Linked DNA regions of Homo sapiens: all the other regions are linked to region 1. The links are contacts of gene promoters, found by promoter capture Hi-C in blood cells and fetal thymus (Javierre and others, 2016). All regions are on one chromosome and are shown on one strand. Each heading gives the region's core, a stretch centred on a gene start or on the middle of the fragment in contact. The rest is flanking DNA. Distances are from core to core; before and after follow the strand shown. Region 1 holds the start of CACNA1G (calcium voltage-gated channel subunit alpha1 G). Region 2 overlaps ANKRD40CL (ANKRD40 C-terminal like). Region 3 has its middle 31 kb from the start of WFIKKN2.

Region 1 (3,846 bases), core at 1-2,500:
GCCTGGATCCCCACCCCCCCAACCCAGGAAGACTGAGGTGTGTGTACGCAGGTGGGGTAAGCCCGGGTTACCGACGAGACCTGCTCGCGTCTCCGCTCCCACTCTGGTGCCCCCTCCCCTCCCTGGCAGCCCCCCCCCCATCCGCCTACCCTCCGGGCTCACTTCGACTCACCTGGCGGTGGGTCTTCTTCCCCCCCGACCCCCGGCGGTGCGGCCCGTCCCCCTTCTGACCCCGCGCCTGGCCGTCGTGCCCCGAAGGATATGGGTTACAGACCGTGCGGAGACACCAGCTCCGCGGGCGGCTGTCCTGGCTCAAGTAGAAGAAAACCACCGGGGCCAGCGCCGGGTACGGCAGCCCCTCCGCCTCGGAGTCCGCGCTGCCCGGGTCCTTTTCTGCTGACCCCGGCCCCGGCCGGCCCCCGGCCCCCGACAGGTCGTTGAGCCGCATGAAGCTCCGGGGCTGTCCCGACTCCTCGGCGCCCGCTCCATCCTCCTCCTCGTCCATCCTCTGGCCAGCCGGGGCCCCGGGCGATCCGGAGAGGGGCAAGCGGCGCCCCTCAGAGGAGGTGTCCTCACGCAACCCGGGGGCCCCGGCGGGGGCACATCTGGTGGGCTCTAGGGCGCAAGCTGAGCCCCCGGGAGGGCCAGTTCAGCCCAGCTCCCCCTGCCCGCAGGGGCATGCTGCCCGCGGGGCGCCGGGGCGCAGGGAAACCCCGCCCGGCGCGAGTCCCGCTTCCCCTGCGCCCCTGGGGCTTCCCGGGCCAGCCGGCCGGCTCCCCCTCACTTTGTTCCGGCTTCTTCGCTTCGCGCCCAGGCTCCGGTTGCCGGATTCGGCGCTACCTTCGGCGAAGCCGCCCCGAGAGGGCGAACGAAAAGGGGGGCAGCGGCGGAGGGCGGGGGTCCGGGGAGGGGCGCCCCCTCTTCCCGCGGCGCAGCTGGAGCCGGATCTAAGGGGTCAGCATCGTCCCGGCTCCGCGCCAGGCGGCGGGGGAGGGGAGGAGGGATCTCTTTAGGGGTGGGCTTGGAGGGGGTGGGGGCGGCTCCTTCCCCCGCCCCGCCGCGGGCTCACTGTCCGGGAGGGGCGGGGAGACAGTGGGGGGCAGTCCCGGGCGGGAGTGGAGGCGGAGATGCCGCCGCCGCAGCCGCCGCGGTGGCTGCCGCTGCCGTAGCTGTCGCCGGCGCCACAGCCTCCTCCTCCGGCCGAGACGCGGAGCGAGCGAGCGAAAGCGGCGGCGAGGAGCCCCGCGCACACCACAGCTGGATCCCTCACTTCAACTTCAAGCCTCGGCCCCGCCCCCAGACAGCCCCGCAGCCAATCGCCGGACGCCGCCGGCCCCGAGCCGCGCGCCCATTGGCCGTCCGCCGTGGCAGTGCGGGCGGGAGCGCAGGGAGAGAACCACAGCTGGAATCCGATTCCCACCCCAAAACCCAGGACCGCCCCTCTCCCCTCCCCTTGCCCCTGGGTCCGCTCCCGAAGGCTGGAGCCAATCAGACTGCTGCCCAGACCGAACCCACTTTCCTATTGGCCATTGGGGTCTTTGGGACTCCCTTGGAGGGAGCCCGAAGAATCAGAGTATTCGGCGCGGGGTCCTGGCGTAGGGCCGCAGGCCCCAGGCATCCTTTGTCCACGACCCCTGATTTGGGCAGCAGCCGGAGGACGGAGCTCAGCTCTGGGCGGGCCTGGGGAAGAAAGGAGACAGGCGGCACGGGGGTGAGGGTTGTCACCAGGGGGTCCCAGAGCGAAATCCCAGGTCTCCACCTGGTTAATCTCCCACCCTGGAGTTGAGCTTGGCTGCGGGACTGGGGGAGGGAAGGAGCGGAGCTGGATGTCCTGGGGGTGGGGCTTCAGGCTGGAGGGGCCCAGTCTTGGAGAAACGGGCGGAGCTCGAGAAAGGCTAGGGTAGGCATGGTCTGGGCGTGGCCTCCACAAATCTCTTGGGCTTATTGGTCATACTCCCGAGTCAATTCTGAGACTTCGACCCTGACCTCGTAACCCTAACCCGCTGGACCTGACCTCACATTGACGCTCCTGGGCTTCATCCCTTTGCCCCTAGGGACCTTTTGAAGGGCGTGGACTCCACGCAGGGGCTTCGTGCTTGAACACGTGGCCCCAGGCAGGTCGCGCTGGACCGCAGAGCCCGGATCCCCAGGAGGGGCTGCGGAGCAGAGCGAGGACCCCTAAGAAGGAACCTGTGGGGGTCTCGAGTGTGTGGGAGGGGGCGGAAGCACAGAGCTGGGCTTTATCGACTCGACCTTCAAAGTCCCCACCACCGCCACCCCCCAACTTCGTGCCTCAGTTTCTCTTAAGTCCCTATGTGGCTTAGGGAAAGAGTGTCCGCGGAACTGGAACTTCGCGGGTCTGCCGCCTTCACTCACTCACCTTAACCCTACCGGCAGCGGGCCCTCGTGGGTTTGTGCTTTCCACGCGTGCACACGCACGCGCAGACCCCGGCCCTTGCCCCGCCTACCTCCCCGAGTTCTGGGGCTCAGTCGGCTCTAGCTCTCTCCTGCCGCCGGCGCCACTCCAGAAAGCTGTGGGTACCCGGGAGCGGAGCGCCGCGGGTGTGCTGGGCGCCGGTGGAGGGGGGAACAGCGAGGATTAGACGCCGGGAAGCACTTCCCCAACATCTGCGAGAGGTAGACACGGCGGAACCTAGTGGGTCAGTCAGTTCCCTCTCCGGAGATTTTGGGGCGCTTGCGCCACTGCGGAGAGGCGGCGGGATGGGTCGGATGACCTCCATCACCACCCCTCACTTTGCTGAGGCCATCACCCCTGGGCGTTGTTCACTCTCCTAAGGCTGCACCACCCACGCAGCCCCCGCGCACCTCCCGCCACCGCAGAGGGTTGGGGTCGTCTCAGTTCCCGCCCCGGCCGATGGGGGGAGGGGATGGGGGAAGTGGCAGAGTGGCTGCTGCGCCGTCGTCTCCCTGGTTGCCCTTTCGCCGAATCCATGCACAGAGTTGTGTAAATGAGGCCGGGCGGGCTCATTTGCATTTCATGCTAATGAGCAGATCCCCTAAGTGCCTTTTTTTCCTGGCGGGAGTCTCTGCTCTCATTCTGAGTATGCGGCGCCTGAGTCTTGAACCCCGTGCCGTCTTCTGGGAAAGGGGGGCTATTTATGGTTGCTCCGCGCGTCTGACACCTTCTTCCCTCCCGAGAGGCCGCAGTCTGCCGGGTCGGCCTGCCCTTCCCGCCAGGATAGAGGCCCCGGGGCTGGCGCGAGAAGTAGGGACGCCCAACACCCCTTCTTTGCAGAGGGGAAAATGAGGACAGAGAGGCTGGCCCAGCCCAATGATCAGGTCCCCTGGTGGTCAGCAGGCCCCACACCCTCATCCATCATCCCGGCCACCCCTGGGCTCTGGACTGAACTCTGTTCTAGAACATGCCCGAAAGGAGGGCAGGCACAAACGCACCATCTAGATAAATTGAGATCCACATGCACTTCCCTGGGTTCAGGACCTAGGGGAGACCGGCCACGCAAGACAGGATCTGATCCCTGTACTCGGCATGTTGGGGCTGATGGCCAGTCGGAGATGCTTACCCTTAGCCTGAGTGCCAGAGAGGAGGCAGAGGCAGAACCTACAGGGAAGGCAAAGAAGACCTGAAACCATCTTTATTTAACTCCAGCCCTCCAAGCCTCAGCTCTGACATCACCTCCTCAGAGTGGCCTTCTTTCCAGCAAGTATTTCAATGCCACTTAAGTGCCAAGGTGCTTAGGATACAGCACCGAGCCAGACACAAGTCTGGAACTTCACAGCACTTAGCCCAGGCTGGGATTATATGTTTGTGTTTGCAGTAATGAAATGATCATCTCCCTATCTAGGCTCTGTGTTCCCAGAGGGGCT
Region 2 (4,398 bases), core at 1,323-3,822, 200 kb before region 1:
CAAAACAAGGATCAGAAGTTGAGGAGTGGCAGGCAGCCCTGGACACTCTCACCCACCCCCATCCAGCTAGTTGGTGCGTTCAAGTGGGGAGGTCGCAATACCCTGGGCGTCACCCATTTGCCCTGGGTTAGAGCAGCGGCTGTGAGAAGGGGAAATTGGCTTCCTCTTCATTTTCCTTTTGCACTCGGCTTTGCAAATTATGTAGTTGGCCCTGGTCACATCCATATCTGGCCATTTACCAACCTGAACAAACTACTTCCCCTTTCAGCCTCAATTTTCCTGTCTGAAAATGAAAATAATAATGTGCATACCCCACAGGATTCTTTTGGGGACAGTGAGGCTTTTCTCTTTTCCAGAATGCAAGTCTGATTATGACAGCTCTCTGCTAAAAACCAGAATGGCTTGGTGGTGTTTTAGGACAAAGACCAAAACCTTTCATCTAGACTAATGCTGCCCAATAGAAATGTAATGCAAGCCACATATGTAATTTAAAATTGCTAGTAGCCATGTTTTAAAAAGTAAAAACAGGTGAAACTAATTTTAATAATATACTTTGCCCGCTATATGCAAATCATTATGTCAACATATAAGTATGAAAATTTTTTATTGCCTCCAAAATCCAGGGTATATTTTACCTTATCGTGTATCTTATCTCATGTGACAAGAAGCTACATAATTGGACTAACTGGCCCCTGCCAGCCTGTCTGACACTCAGTCCCCCCATGCTCTCTGCCCTGCAGCCATGCTGAACTCTCCACAGGGCCCTGTGAAAAGCTCTTCACCTCCTCTGCCCTCTGGATCTAGTGAAGCCTATTCATCCTTCAGATGTCAGCTCAAATAATCAACCTTCATGGAGGCCTCCCTTGACCCCTAACATGCTTTCAAAGTACTGTGTATTTCACATTCATCATGCCCCGACAACTGTGATTTCCCATTTATTAATATCTGTCTCTTCTGCTGGCCTGCAAACTCCAGGAGCACAGAGACATCTTTGGGATTTTTGAACATGATTTCCCCAGGGCTTAGCCCAGTGCCTGGTGCAAAGCAGGCTTTCAACATGTTCAGTGGATATTGTAAGAAAGAAAGAAATACACAAAAGGCCTGGCATATGCAAAGCACTCTAAATATTCACTCCTTTCCCTTCCCTCTGGGTGAGAAAATTTCTCCTTATAAAGACACCCTCCTAACTGTATCTCTGCTAGAGAACTGAAGACATAAAGCACTCTGTGCCAAAAATATTTAAGTAAAAACTTGAGCTAAGCACAGAGATTATAAATATTTCTTCCCCAGATTACGCACCATTTAAAAATACTGTCTCAGCTCCTTTTCATGATTTGGGTGGTGATTAAAGAAAATTACTCTTCAAGACTGAAAGTCATTACTGCCCTTTTCCTGACTTGCCTTTTCCCTTGAGAAGGGGAGGATAAGCTGCAGGGCAGGAAGTGGAAGTGGGGCATCCTTGTCCTTTGTCTGGCAGACAGCCAACTGGTCAGGTACTGCTCCTTCTCAACTCTTTCCTGATTCCCAGGTGAATATAAACAAGAAGGCACAAATCCACACTTGCCAACAACGGACCCAAGTGATAACAAGAAACCCAGTGACACCTGTCTAGGTGAAGACTCAGCCCCTATGTGACCAGGTTGCAAAGCCAAACTGACCATCTGCTTTCCATTTGGACTTTTAGTTCATACTGTATCTTCTCAGGACAGTTAAGTTGGAATACAATGCCACTGTCCTGAAAGATGGTAGAATTATCCTATTTCTGGAGGAGTGGGGGTGGTGGGTAGGAATCTCAAGAGCGATTTGCTCCTCTGCACAATAGCTTCTTTAAGGACACCAGGGCCCCCAGGGCTATACATTTCCCTGAAGCTTTCCAGATAAGCAACAAGGTATGAGCACCTGCTATGTATTGCCCAAGGGTGATGTGTTTAAATATCCATTGCATATTTTAAATCCTTGGCTGGCTTAAAGCTGCAAGCTTTCTGTCTTCAGTGGATATAATGGGGGCATACATCCCAGAGCTTGCCCAACACTCCAAGAAAAGAACCCTCAGCTAATGCAAAGTGTGTATGTGCCCATGAAAGCTCCATGTCTACTTAACATTCAGTTTTTAGGATTATTTATGCTGTAATAATAGATATGAAAATCTCTGACAGGTATTTTGTTTCCTTTACAAACTGTATTTGAATTTATGGGTGATTTAGAGCTTGTGTTTAAAGTCAGAATTCAGAACCCCAAAGAAAATGACTTCATTGAAATTGAACTGAAGAGACAAGAACTGAGTTACCAAAACCTACTAAACGTGAGTTGCTGTGAACTGGGGATTAAACCAGAACGAGTGGAGAAGATCAGAAAGCTACCAAACACACTGCTCAGAAAGGTAAGGGTTAAGAGTTTCTAAATGCAGAATCACAGTGGGTGACATCATGTTCTCTGGAGCCAATCGTTTACACTTCTGCATTTCATGACACCAGAAATCCTGGCTGCAAAACGGCCAAACATGGTAGCTAGGTCATTTTCAATCTGGCGCTTTTAAGATTTGCACATCTAATCCATAAACCTTTTAAAAACCTCTAAATGGTCCGATCACGGTGGCTCACACCAGTACAATCCCAGCACTTTGGGAGGCCGAGGTGGGCAGATCACAAGGTCAAGAGATCGAGACTATCCTGGCCAACACGGTGAAAACCCGTCTCTACTAAAAATACAAAAATTAGCTGGGCATGGCAGCGCGTGCCTGTAATCCCAGCTACTCAGGAGGCTGAGGCAGGAGAATTGCTTGAACCCAGGAGGAGGAGGTTGCAGTGAGCTGAGATAGCACCACTGCACTCCAGCCTGGCGACAGAGCTAGACCCTGTCTCAAAAAAAAACAAACCTCTGAATGACAAGTGACTCCCCAATTTAAGGCTTTAGTTCAGTGCTTTTGGCCCCACCAATCTCTGCAAAATTGACTGGTTAACATAAAATGGCATAGTCCTCAGGAAAAAAAAAAACACAAACCCATCCTTGTTTGCTTAGCAAAGGGTGGGTTTGCTAAGTATTTGAAATATTAGCAAACAAAAATTGTTTTGCATTTTTATATATTTCCCAGATTTAAAATACAGATCTTAATTTTTAATTTTGGAAAGGAAATCTTATTTCTTTGGAAATTTTTCTTTAAAGCTTTCAAAATTCCTTTGGCAATTTTTTTGTTTTTTGTTTTTTTGAGACAGGGTCTCTGTCACCCACAATAGAATGCAATGGCGTGATCATAGCTCACTGCAGCCTCGAAATCCTCAGCTCAAGTGATCCTCCCATCTTAGCCTCCAGAGTAGTTGGGACTACAGGGACACACCACCACACTCCATTAATTTCTTTTTTTTGAAATGGGTCTGGCTATATTGCCCAGGCTGTTCTCAACCCCCTGGCCTCATCCTCCTAAGTGCTGGGATAACAGGTGGTGAGCTGCTGTTCCTTTGGCAATCCTTACTGGTGTCTTGGCTTATAGTGTATATTCTTTGTAAACTAACATGTCAAGGGATGATCATGCTTTCCAGATACCTTAACAACAAAAATCTGCTGGGTGTGGTGTCTCATGCTTGTAATCCCAGCACTTTGGGAGGCCGAGGTGGGCGGATTGCTTGAGCTCAGGAATTTGAGACCAGCCTGGGCAACATGGTGAAACCCTGTCTCTACAGGAAAATACAAAAATTAGCTGGGTGTAGTAGACTTGGGAGGCTGCAGTGGAAGTGGAAGGATTGCTTGAGCCTAGGAGGTTGAAGCTGCAGTGAGCTGTGACTGTGCCACTGCACTCCAGGTTAGGTGACAGAGCGAGACCCTGTCTCAAAAAAAAAAATACAGAACTATCTTATGGGGACCGGGCGCAGTGGCTCACACCTGTAATCCCAGCATTTTGGGAGGCCCAGGTGGGCAGATCACCTGAAGTCAGGAGTTCAAGACCAGCCTGGCCAACATGGTGAAAACTGTCTCTATAAAAAATACAAAAATTAGCCGGGCATGATGGCGCATGTCTGAATCCCAGCTACTCAGGAGGCTGAGGTTGCAGTGAGCCAAGTGAGGCAGGAGAATCACTTGAACCTGGGAGGCGGAGGTTGCAGTGAGCCAAGATCGCATCATTGCCCTCCAGCCTGGGCGACAAAAGCAAGACTCTGTCTCAAAAAAAACAATACCTTATGGGTTCAGAACCCAAGATGCTGAACAATATTAATATTAAGGTTTTCTATTACATTCAAATTTATTAAGCATAATATAATTTCTTTTCTACATTAAGGACAAAGACATTCGAAGACTGCGGGACTTTCAGGAAGTGGAACTCATTTTAATGAAAAATGGAAGCTCCAGATTGACAGAATATGTGCCATCTCTGACAGAAAGGCCCTGCTATGATAGCAAAGCTGC
Region 3 (4,314 bases), core at 382-2,881, 240 kb before region 1:
TCCCAAAGTGCTGGGATTACAGGCATGAGCCACTGCGCCCAGCCTGTTGTTTGTAGGTTCTACATTGTGTTGATTCATTCATCAATTTTTGGATATTTGGATGGTTTTCTACTTTCGGCTGTTTCTGGCCAGAGCCCCACAGCGCCCCCTCTAGACCCTCCATACTCATCTCTGAGTGAGGCAGTCATGCAGCCAGCGGGCCTCCAAGCTTCTGTGCCAAGTCAAACAAGAGTTTGACCCTAATCCAACACAGAGAAAATTTGGCAACGCTAAGCCAAGTTCCTTGGTGAGGCGCACATTTGCCTCTTGATCTGCCGCATGCCCTCTTCAGGGAACACCCTTTCTTCCTGGGGGCAGCTTCTCCCCCTATTCCAACCACGTGGCCCTAGTGGGGCTGCCATGCCATCCCGGAACCCTACCTGATGCAGGGTCTCTGCAGCTCAGCCTTTCCCACATGCGGAGCGGCCAAGTGTGCAGCTGAAGTTTTTGGTTGATTCTAGCAAATTCCCCCTTTCTGCCCAAGCTGGCTCATGTTGGATTTTGTCACTTTCAAGCCAGAGTCCTCACGGGGGCAGCTCCATCTCCCACCACAAATCCCAGGTGCTCCCTGAAGTGGAGAAAATGGGGCATCCTGCCTGGGCCCAGACTAGCACCCCCCCACAATATAATAACTCTGTGGGGTCCCCAGGTGTTTCATTTAACTTTGAGCTTCCTGGATGAACAGCATGGAGCTCCAATATTCATAAAAACTGGACCTCTGGGGCACGCCCAGGCTTGTCGAGACCCTGGAGGTCAGAAAGTGCAAGAAAGTTCTCCAGGTGTTCCTTGGACAGTTTGCACCTGGTAACTGACCCTTGGCTTGTGGGATTCCCCCCACCCCATGTCATTCCCCCCACCCCATGTGGCTAATGAATGGATCCTGCAGGGAGTCACCATTCGCCTGGATAACGTCCTTGGGTGCCGTCCAGTGGGGCCTGGAAAAAGTTGCTGGCTTAGGCAGCATCGCCTCCAAGCCAGCTGTTCCTAAGGACTGTGTTCCCACATGCAGAACACCTGGGCCCTCCTCTGTCCAGCCAGGACTTCTGCGTGTGCTGAACTGGCTATTGACACTTCCTAGGTAGATTCCCCAGTGTCTGTCTGACCAGCAACCCTCCTCACCTCCTCCTCAGAACTTATTGTGGAATCAGAAAGTATAAGATTTCCCCTTGGGGACGAGTAGTACAGAATGAGTCCAGGTGTGGTGGCTCACACCTGTAATCCCAGCACTTTGGGAGGCTGAGGCAGGGGATCACTGGAGGTCAGGAGTTCAAGACCAGCCTGGCCAACATGGTGAAACCCTGTCTCTACTAAAAATACAAAAGTTAGCTGGTCATGGTGGTGTGCGCCTGTAGTCCCAGCTACTCAGGAGGCTGAGGCAGAATTGCTTGAATCTGGGGGGTGGAGATTGCAGTGAGCCGAAATCACACCACTGCACTCTAGCCTGGATGACAGGGCAAAACTCTGTCCAGACTCTGTCTAAAAAATAAAAAAAAAAACTGTAGGGCACGGTGGCTCACGCCTGTAATCCCACCACTTTGGAAGGCCAAGGCGGGCAGATCACCTGAGGTCGAGAGTTCAAGACCAGCCTGGCCAACATGGAGAAACCCCATCTCTACTAAAAATACAAAAGTAGCCAGGTGTGGTGGTGCATGCCCGTAATCCCAGCTACTTGGGAGGCCGAGGCAGGAGAATCGCTTGAATCCGGGAGGTGGAGGTGGAGGTTGCGGTGAGCTGAGATTGCGCCATCACACTCCAGCATAGGCAACAAGAGTGAAACTCTGTCTCAAAAAAAAAGTACAGAATGACAATTATGAAAATCAATTTTGTTTAATCTTTTCTAAAATGGAACAATGAACCAAGCAATTTCCTGGGCCCAAAAAAAGAAGCAGTATTGCGGTTATTAAAATAGTGTTTACTTTGTGCTGATGGGAAAAGATGTGAAATATTAATGACTCCACGGAGCCCCGATTATGTGACTCATTAGGCAAAGGCCCTATGTGCAATTAAAGTAGACTCTTCAGTGTCTATCTTAAGTGACTTTGTGTTTTGTCCAGCCACTCCATACACAAGGATGAGTGGCCAGGTGCAGAGGCTCATGCTTGTAATCCCAGCACTTTGGAAGGCCGAAGCAGGAGGATCGTGAAGCCTAGGAGTTCGAGACCAGCCTGGGCAACATAGTGGGACCCTCATCTCCATAAAAAAAAAACCAAAAAAGCAAAAACAACAAAAAAAAAAGAGAGAGAAAAAGATAATTTTTGTTGTTCTAATTTTTTTCTACAGAGCCTTTTTCATATAACTTTGTGCCTCGGGTTCCTCATCTGTACAATGGGATAATAGTACTTACTCCATAGGAATATTTTGAGGATTTACGACATATAACTCACTTAAAAACTGTGCCTGATGCCGGGCGTGGTGGCTCACGCCTGTAACCCCAGCACTTTAGGAGGCCAGGGAAGGCGAATCACTTGAGGTCAGGAGTTCATGACCAGCCTGGCCAACATGGTGAAACCCTGTCTCTACTAAAAATGCAAAAAATTAGCTGCAAATCGCTTAAACCTGGGAGGCGGAGCTTGCAATGAGCTGAGATCTGCCACTGCACTCTAGCTTGGGCGACAGAGCGAGACTCCATCTCAAAAACAAACAAACAAACAAAAAACTGTGCCTGAAAAGTAGGAACAATAAAATACATGAGTCATTATCATCCCCATTATCATCATTATAAATCTCGAGGATGTAGAACACACTTTAGGTAACTGAGTGAAATGAAGCTCGATAGCACAGGACACAGTCATGGTTCAGGACCTGCACCCACTGTCAATCACTTCAGCTGCAAATACGCTCAGCAAACTCACTGGGTTCTTGTCCTTTGTTTTGTGTTTCTTTTTCCCCATCTAAACTAGGTCCCTCTGTTTCACTTACTAAGCGAGACCAGTCTGCTGTTTTTCTCTGCAGATACTGGCTTTAAGAAAAAGGTGCCTCTGGCTGTTTCTGAGTTTTAATGAAAGCAAAGCTTCTTTCTTTCCCCAAGACTCTGCCGCAGGCTGCAGGGTGAGGCCTGTGATTCAAACTGAACTCGTTTCTCCCACCTAAAGAGGTTACAAGCCAGACCCTTTGGATCTCTTTCTCCGGACTTTTCTGCCAAGCTTGCCTCACAGGTGCAGGGGGCAGGACTGGAAGGAGGTGGCCTGGAGCTGCTGAAGCCCACAGGGGCTGGGTCTCTAACGGTGGCCTGTGAGGTCTTCAGAGACACCCCAGTTGCTGCCATTCTCAGCTTCCTGGTGTCCTTCCAATCGGGGCCTGTTGTTTGGTTTGGTTTTGACTCGTTTGAGTATACTTCCTAGGGTTCACCAGAGACACAAGAAACACCTACAGCCAGGCACGGTGGCTCCCGCCTCTAATCCCAGCATTTGGGATGCCAAGGTGGGCGGATCACTTGAGCCCTGGAGTTGGAGACCAGCCTGGGCAACATAGTGAGATCTTGTCTCTACTAAAAATAAAAAATTAGCCGAGTGTTGTGGCGCACGCCTGTGGTCCCAGCTACTTGGGAGGCTGAGGCAGGAGGATTGCTTGAGGATGGGAGGTTGAAGCTTCAGTGAGCCATGATTGTGCCACTGCACTCCAGCCTGGGCCACAGAGCAAGACCCTGTCTCAAAAAAACAAAACAAAACAAAAGTGAAACACTGTCACCTTTTTTCTTCCCCTCCTGCCTCACAGCCAGCCTCCTAGAGAAGGAGAAAGGCCTGGTAGCAGCATGAGCTGCCAGGAGCTGAGAAACCCATTTCTGTCTGTCCTCCTTGTTCCTGAGCCACTTCACCTAGGGGAGTGCTATTTGTGCTCTGGTGGGGACATAAAATTGCAACAGGAAGCCAGCACAGGTGACCTCTGCCCCTGTCTATTTGGAGAAAGTTGGTCCTAGCTGAGGTCAACACCCCAGGCACAATTACACCCACAGTAAAGCGGGGGGATGAACCACTTTACAGGGTCTGGCTCCCCAAGATGGTACATCAGCACATCAGAACATAATCATCCAAAGAAAATGACTTGGCTTGTGCCTCGTGAGAGTTCAAATTCCACATCAGCTCCAGGCTAGGGGGAGTCAAAACTGCTGAACAGATACAGAATAGCCGGAGATGAAAGCTAAGAGATCTCAGGACCTAACGGCTTTGTGGCTGTCTGTATTAGACAGGATCAGTTAATGCTGCAAGAAACAAGCCTGAGAATGATAATGGCACAAGCGTAGTGAGGTGGAATTCTCATTCACATAAACAGTCACAG

Evidence for each region. The method cuts DNA at HindIII sites, captures the fragments that hold promoters and counts their contacts. A CHiCAGO score of 5 or more calls a contact.
Region 2: a contact is called between a fragment that was not itself captured here and the fragment with the promoter of CACNA1G in region 1, in 6 of 17 cell types (M0 macrophages, M1 macrophages, monocytes and 3 more). The highest score is 12.9, in M0 macrophages.
Region 3: a contact is called between a fragment that was not itself captured here and the fragment with the promoter of CACNA1G in region 1, in 7 of 17 cell types (M0 macrophages, M1 macrophages, endothelial precursors and 4 more). The highest score is 7.3, in M0 macrophages.

The regions. Positions count from the first base shown.
Region 1 is chr17:50,558,119-50,561,964 of GRCh38, reverse strand. It overlaps CACNA1G (calcium voltage-gated channel subunit alpha1 G), which reads right to left and starts at 1,250. Exons shown (of 38, transcript NM_018896.5): 1 at 264-1,250. The coding sequence starts at 505. It overlaps CACNA1G-AS1 (CACNA1G antisense RNA 1), which reads left to right. Exons shown (of 2, transcript NR_038439.1): 1 at 1-37. RefSeq lists enhancers at 1-291, 1,651-1,700 and a silencer at 1,051-1,430. The HindIII fragment of the contact is 9,044 bases long and covers 1-3,846 here.
Region 2 is chr17:50,761,379-50,765,776 of GRCh38, reverse strand. ANKRD40CL (ANKRD40 C-terminal like) reads left to right here. Exons shown (of 4, transcript NM_001358683.3): 3 at 2,220-2,380; 4 at 4,271-4,398. Among named protein-coding and RNA genes, the nearest start is that of ANKRD40CL, 3.9 kb to the left of the region's middle. RefSeq lists a silencer at 90-139. The HindIII fragment of the contact is 1,184 bases long and covers 1,981-3,164 here.
Region 3 is chr17:50,802,406-50,806,719 of GRCh38, reverse strand. No RefSeq gene overlaps it. Among named protein-coding and RNA genes, the nearest start is that of WFIKKN2, 31 kb to the left of the region's middle. RefSeq lists a silencer at 332-553. The HindIII fragment of the contact is 2,841 bases long and covers 211-3,051 here.